Linked DNA regions of Homo sapiens: region 2 is linked to region 1. Evidence: promoter capture Hi-C in human tissues and cell types (Jung and others, 2019). All regions are on one chromosome and are shown on one strand. Each heading gives the region's core, a stretch centred on a gene start or on the middle of the fragment in contact. The rest is flanking DNA. Distances are from core to core; before and after follow the strand shown. Region 1 holds the start of ZNF423 (zinc finger protein 423). Region 2 overlaps SYNAGE (synapse stability regulating cerebellar lncRNA).

Region 1 (2,700 bases), core at 178-2,677:
AGGCCAGCCGCGGGGAGAGGAGGCCAGGGGAGGGGCTCTGCTGCCGGCGCGCGGCCTTTCCCCGGGGCCTCTACTCTCCAGGGGTCCCCTCGAGCTGGGGGCCCTCGCTGGAAATAGAAAGCAAAGCGTGGAGACGAAGGGATGGGTGTGTGTATCTATATATCTGCAGCTCCCCACAAACGCGCGCACCCCGGGGAGCCAGCACAGAAAGCCGGCCTGGGTGTCGAGGGTGCCGGTGCCCGGGGTCAGATCCAGGGTGCCGGTGCCCGGGGTCAGATCCGGGGCGCCCTCCGCGGAGGGGCGCGCACCGCGGCCGCTGAGCTCCCCTGAGGACCTGCGTCCCGCCGGCGCCGTGCAGACAATGAACTCCTGGCGGAGGCTCCCTGCCCGGTGGGCCTCGGTGGAGGAGGCAGGAAGTGCAGGGGCCCGGGCCGGGAGAAGGCCTGGGCAGGGGCGGGAGGGGGCGCCAGGCGGCCGGGGCGAGGGCGCGGCGCCCGGGGCGCTCGCCGACAGCGCCCGCCGCTCCCCGCGTCCTCGGGCGACCAGGCAGGGGCCAGAGAGAGCCAGCGAGGCCCGGGGCCAGCGAGGAGCGGTCGGCCTGCCGGGCGCCCGTCCTCGCCGCCTCTTCCTTCCTCCTGTCGCCCGCCCGCCGCCGCCGAGATTCGCAATCCCCGCCAAGTCGGGCCAGCACCCCTTGATTGGCCACACGGGCCCGGGCCCCGCACGGAGGGAGCGGCAAGGGCCCCTTAGCGGCGCCCCCAGGCCTGGGTCCCCCAAGGGCGACGGCGCCGAGTCCGGGCAGGGAGGGTGTCCGCGGCGTACCCCCTCCGCCGCCGCCGCCGCCGCCGCCGCCTCCGCCTCCTGCTCCCGGCTTCCTCCTCCCCCTCCTCCGCCTCCGCCTCCGCCTCCGCCTCCTCTGCCGCCTCCTCCTCCTCCTCTCGGCTCGCTCGCGCGGGTCCCCGGCAGCCAGCCCGCTCGCCGGTCCCTCCTCCCTCGCTCCCTCCCTCCTCGCTCGCTCGCTCGCGCCTCCGCCGGGCCTCGCTCGCTCACCTTTCACCGAGCGCGGCTTCGCCTGCTTCCGCCTGGACATGTCCGGGGCTCCGGGCGCTCCGTCGCCCTCCGCAGCCGGCTCCCCCCGCCGCCCCCCGCCGCTCCGGGCAGCCCTTCTCCCCCTTCTCCTCCGCCTGTCTCTTGGAAACTTTTTTTTTTGCAGCCCGGTTGGCGGCTGTGGGGAGCGGACCGCAGGTCCGGGGCGGCCTCCCTTGGGGGGGCAGCCCGGGCCGGCCGAGGCCGCTCGAAGGCGGGGGGAGGCCCGGGGGGCGCGCCGGGGCCCTGCCTGTTGCAATGCGGCAGTCCGGGGCTCCCGATCCAAGCGGCGGTCCCAGCGGCGCGGGGAGTCCGGAGGCCACTCGGCCGAGCCGAGTTATGCAAAAAAAAAAAAAAAAAAAAAAAAAAAAAAGCCGCCCCCCTCCTCCTCCCAACCCCCCGCCGGCCCCCGGCCCCTGCGGCCCCCTCCTTCCCTCCCCCACCCTACCGCCACCCTCACCCTCCTCCTCCTTCTCCTCCTCCTCCGCCCCTTGCCGGATTTTTGTGCAAAGTTTGCAGGCGTCCGGCCACGCAGCCCGGTGCGGAGCTCACAATGAACCCATCTGAGGAGGGGGAACGGGGCTGGAGTCGAGGGTATCTCAAGGGGGGAGGAGACCGGGAGGCGGTCGGGAGCGCGGAAGCTCAGTACCCCCCAGGAAAAAAAAAAAAAAGAAGCCTTCGAATTATCCCCTGCCGCACAAAAAAAAATAATAAATATTAATGGCTCAAAAATGCCCAAGCGCCTGGTTTGGAGATTATGATGGATGGGGGGCGGGGGTCCCTCAACTCAGCCTACTTGGAGGGGAGGCTCGAAACGGCCGCAGTGGCTCGGAAGCCGCGGCTCGGGGCCCCTGGCTCACGCCCCCTTCTCTGGCTCTCGGATCGGCCCGGCGCCGGCCCCCCGGAGGAGGAAGGGGCGCGCGGGGGCGCTCAGGCGGCGGCCGGCAGGCGCGCCCGTGCCCCGGGCATCGCTCAGCCCGTGCGCCGGGCCGCCGCTGCCTGCCCTCGGGCTGCGGTGCTCAGCGCGAGGCGCGCAGCCGATCCCCAGGCCGGTGCCAAGTCGCCGGCCCCGCTAGCTGCCTCCATGGGCCAGGGGCTCGGAGAGGGGGGAGGCGGCGGCCGCGGTGGCGGAAGAGGAGGACGAGCAGGCGGCGGCGGCGGCGGCCGGGCTCCCGTCCTCCTGGGCAGCGGCGGCGGCGGCTGCGCCCCGGCTCCTCCGCGCTCCAGCCGGCGCCGGCCCGCCCGCCAGCCTCCCTCGCGCTCCTGTCTTCTTTGTGGTCGCTGGCTCTCCTCCTCCCGATCCGGCTGCTGGGGCTGCACTGCAGAGACACATAATAAAGCCAGGCTTGGCTGGAAATGTAGCCGGGTCCCAGCAGGAGGATGTGAGGAGCGGAGTCCCGGCGGGGGAGCGCTCTGATCCCGTGGGGCGCCCCGCACTGCTCCGGCTCGGATCAGACGGAGAGAGGGCCAACAGCACCGAGCGATGGACAGCGCTGGAAATACAGCTCCGGCCGCCCGCAAAACCCGGACCGTGGTGGCGGCGGCGGCGGCGGCGGCAGGCACGGCGCGGGCGCGGGCACCGCACCAGCACGCGGGGCCGGGGCTCGGGCGCTG
Region 2 (2,861 bases), core at 339-2,838, 570 kb before region 1:
TGTAGCCTTTTCAATAAAGACCAGAATTTTGGAGTGCCTTGAACCTTAATCATTGATCTTTAATTCTTATTAAGTCAACTGCCCACCTTTTAAAGACTGAGGCCCAGGAAGAGTAAGTTTCTCTGAGACAATGCATACAGTACAGTGCTTCTTGGGTATTGGCTCTAAGACCAGATGCAAAGAAAGGCTAAAATCCCATTTCATTGTTCATTAGGTGAGAACCCTTTGTTAAGCTGTGTAACCTCTGTGCATAGTTTCCTCATCAGCAAAGTCAGAAAAAGTATGTACCTGAAGGACTGATTGTAAGGCTGGGATGAGAGAATCCATGTGATCAGCCCTCACCAACAGGTGCTGCCCAGTTCATGAGTGCTGCTGCTGTCCTGCCCAAGTACCCAGCTTGCAGAGTGCCAGAGTTAGAGTCCCAGGGGTGTTCTCCACAGCTGCATGCTTGATCCAGGCCTATCAGGTGAGTTGGCTCTTGGCTAGTGGTTTTTCTTCTCTTGCTGTACAAAAGTCCAGACAGTAATGTCTTTTTTTCATTTTTATAGATATATTCCATTGAAAGTCCTCATTCTCAAATTTAAAACAAAGACTTTTTGTGTACCTCAATAGCAATGCACACACAGTTGGCTTCACAAACATATTGTACATTTCTTTTTTTCATATTTATTCAACAAATGTATATTGACTACCCACCGTGTGACAGGTGTTATTTGTTGACGGAACCAGGCATCATCAGCAAACAAAACTGACAAAGCTTCCTGCCCTCTGTGGAAGGCATCTGAGGAAGAGACTGGATTTTGTAGCAACATGTTATTCTCATTATAAACTTTATCATTGGAATACTAAAGCCAAATCATCCCCCATCTCCTTGATCAGGATACCCACTTAATCTAGGCAGCTACACAATTGTGAGAGCCTTTGTTTTTTTCTGCTGAAACATCCTTAAAAAGATACCTCACAACCCAAGATTTGGCTTTTCTTAAATACGATTTTTAATTTTTTTCATTTCTATCTAGAGATTTAATTGGAAATGGAAAATCATCAATTTTCCAATTAAATGTCTGTTCCAATCAACATTATACCTTTTAGGTTGTCATTGTCATTTTTAAGTTTAAGCAACTTTAAGGATTTTGAATCTGGCTGCCTGTAAATTAAAGGTGAAAGTAATCATTGTGTTGGATTGGAACATTTTGTCAATTGAGAGTGGTTTCCTTGTTCTTAGTGTATGAAAAGTTTATTTTTCTAATGTAGATTAATAAAGGAGATAAAGAAAAACAAAATGAGTGATTTATGTGTGTGAGAAAAGAACCATTTCCTCAAGGATTAAATAAAATTCATACCTTTTGTTTCTTTTGAAAAGTTTTTAAAATAAATTTTAATGAATGTGTCCTTTAAATATTCCTTTAAAAATGTATCCTATTTTAAAATGGACTCTCTGAGAGAAGGAATTGATACCTGTGTTTAAAATCAAAAATAGCATGCATAGAGACTGTTTTTCTAGTTGGTTGAAGCTTTTTTCCCTCTCCTTTACATCAGTGAACCAGCATCTTGCCCTTCAGACCCTACAGCACACTCTTGGGCTCATGAAGTGTATGACACATCCTCCTTGGGGGATCGGCCATGTCCTCGCTCTCATGACCACATGAATTCTTCTGTATGTCTTTTCTCACAGCTGAGTACTCTCTTCCTGACCCCCTTGTGGAATGGGGAAAGGAGGCTGTGACATTGTGCTTGTGCAAACAATAATTGAGAGCTTTCCGAGTCTCCTGCATCTTCATAAATGATTTTTTGTTTTATGCTGGGACAGTAGTTCTTTAAATAGAATATTCTCCCATGGAAATCGCCCACAATGCTGAGAGTACACCTTGCAAAAGGTAAGTCTAGAATATAGGGTGCCTCCTCAGCATTGCCCAGAAGCTGAAGTTAGGACTCTCTAGAATACCAAAAACAAATTTATAGCAGTTCATTAATGTAAGGAATTATGAAAACTGTGTGCCACCATTATCCATAGATGAAACAAGAGCCACCACGCAAGCACAGACACAAAGCCCTGAAGATGAAGCCATTGACAGGGCTCTCATTTATTCTGTAGAAACCCACTTGCCTGTTTTTGAACCAGTTTTCTTTGGAGCATATGTCTCACTGTGCAACCAAAGTGGTGTTTATATCCTAGTCACTTGGCAAAAATTCTGTCATTGCTTCAGGGAGATCCATTTTAGGCCTGAAGCATGGAGCTGGTAATAGATGGGATTTGGTACTTCTGAAGAAAAGACCCTACTGCAAATTTAGAGAGTTAATTTTTTCTTTTGTTCCCCATAATATTGTTGCTAGATAGAACTACCTTTTTTGACTAGAAGTTAAATATAGAGGCCTAAATCAATTAGGTAACTCCCACTCATTCTAAATGAGAACATGTTTGTTTTTCTCCAACGAGATGAGAAATATTTGAGGCGCTTCCTGATATCTCTATCACCCACTGCATTTTTTCACTTGATGTATATTTCCCCATGTATTTGGGATAATTTTCAAATAATTGCCCTTTAGAAATCTACTTGATATTAAATGTAAAAAAAAAGCAAGATGCAAAATTATTATAGGATGCATTTACAGAAATTACAAAATTTCTATAAACTATTTATGGAGGAAGACTTATAGAGTATATGTCAACACATTGCTTTATTATTGTCCTTGGTTATGAGTATGGTTTTTTTGAAACCTGCTTTGTACTTTGGGTGTTTTCTCACCATTGGTACAATTGAGGCATTTTTCCCTCTTCTTCAACCTTGCAAATCACACGTGAGGATGCTCATAGAAGTGCCTCTCAGACAGGCTGTTGTTTTGCTTTCACCAATAAATCA

Evidence for each region. The method cuts DNA at HindIII sites, captures the fragments that hold promoters and counts their contacts. A contact is called where the count stands out against the background at its distance.
Region 2: a contact is called between a fragment that was not itself captured here and the fragment with the promoter of ZNF423 in region 1, in 1 of the 25 tissues and cell types used here (lymphoblastoid cells).

The regions. Positions count from the first base shown.
Region 1 is chr16:49,854,685-49,857,384 of GRCh38, forward strand. It overlaps ZNF423 (zinc finger protein 423), which reads right to left and starts at 1,428. Exons shown (of 8, transcript NM_001379286.1): 1 at 1,051-1,428. The coding sequence starts at 1,090. RefSeq lists a silencer at 672-931. The HindIII fragment of the contact is 13,140 bases long and covers 1-2,700 here.
Region 2 is chr16:49,289,190-49,292,050 of GRCh38, forward strand. SYNAGE (synapse stability regulating cerebellar lncRNA) reads left to right here. Exons shown (of 4, transcript XR_933530.4): 3 at 1-466; 4 at 549-2,861. Among named protein-coding and RNA genes, the nearest start is that of SYNAGE, 8.6 kb to the left of the region's middle. The HindIII fragment of the contact is 3,032 bases long and covers 73-2,861 here.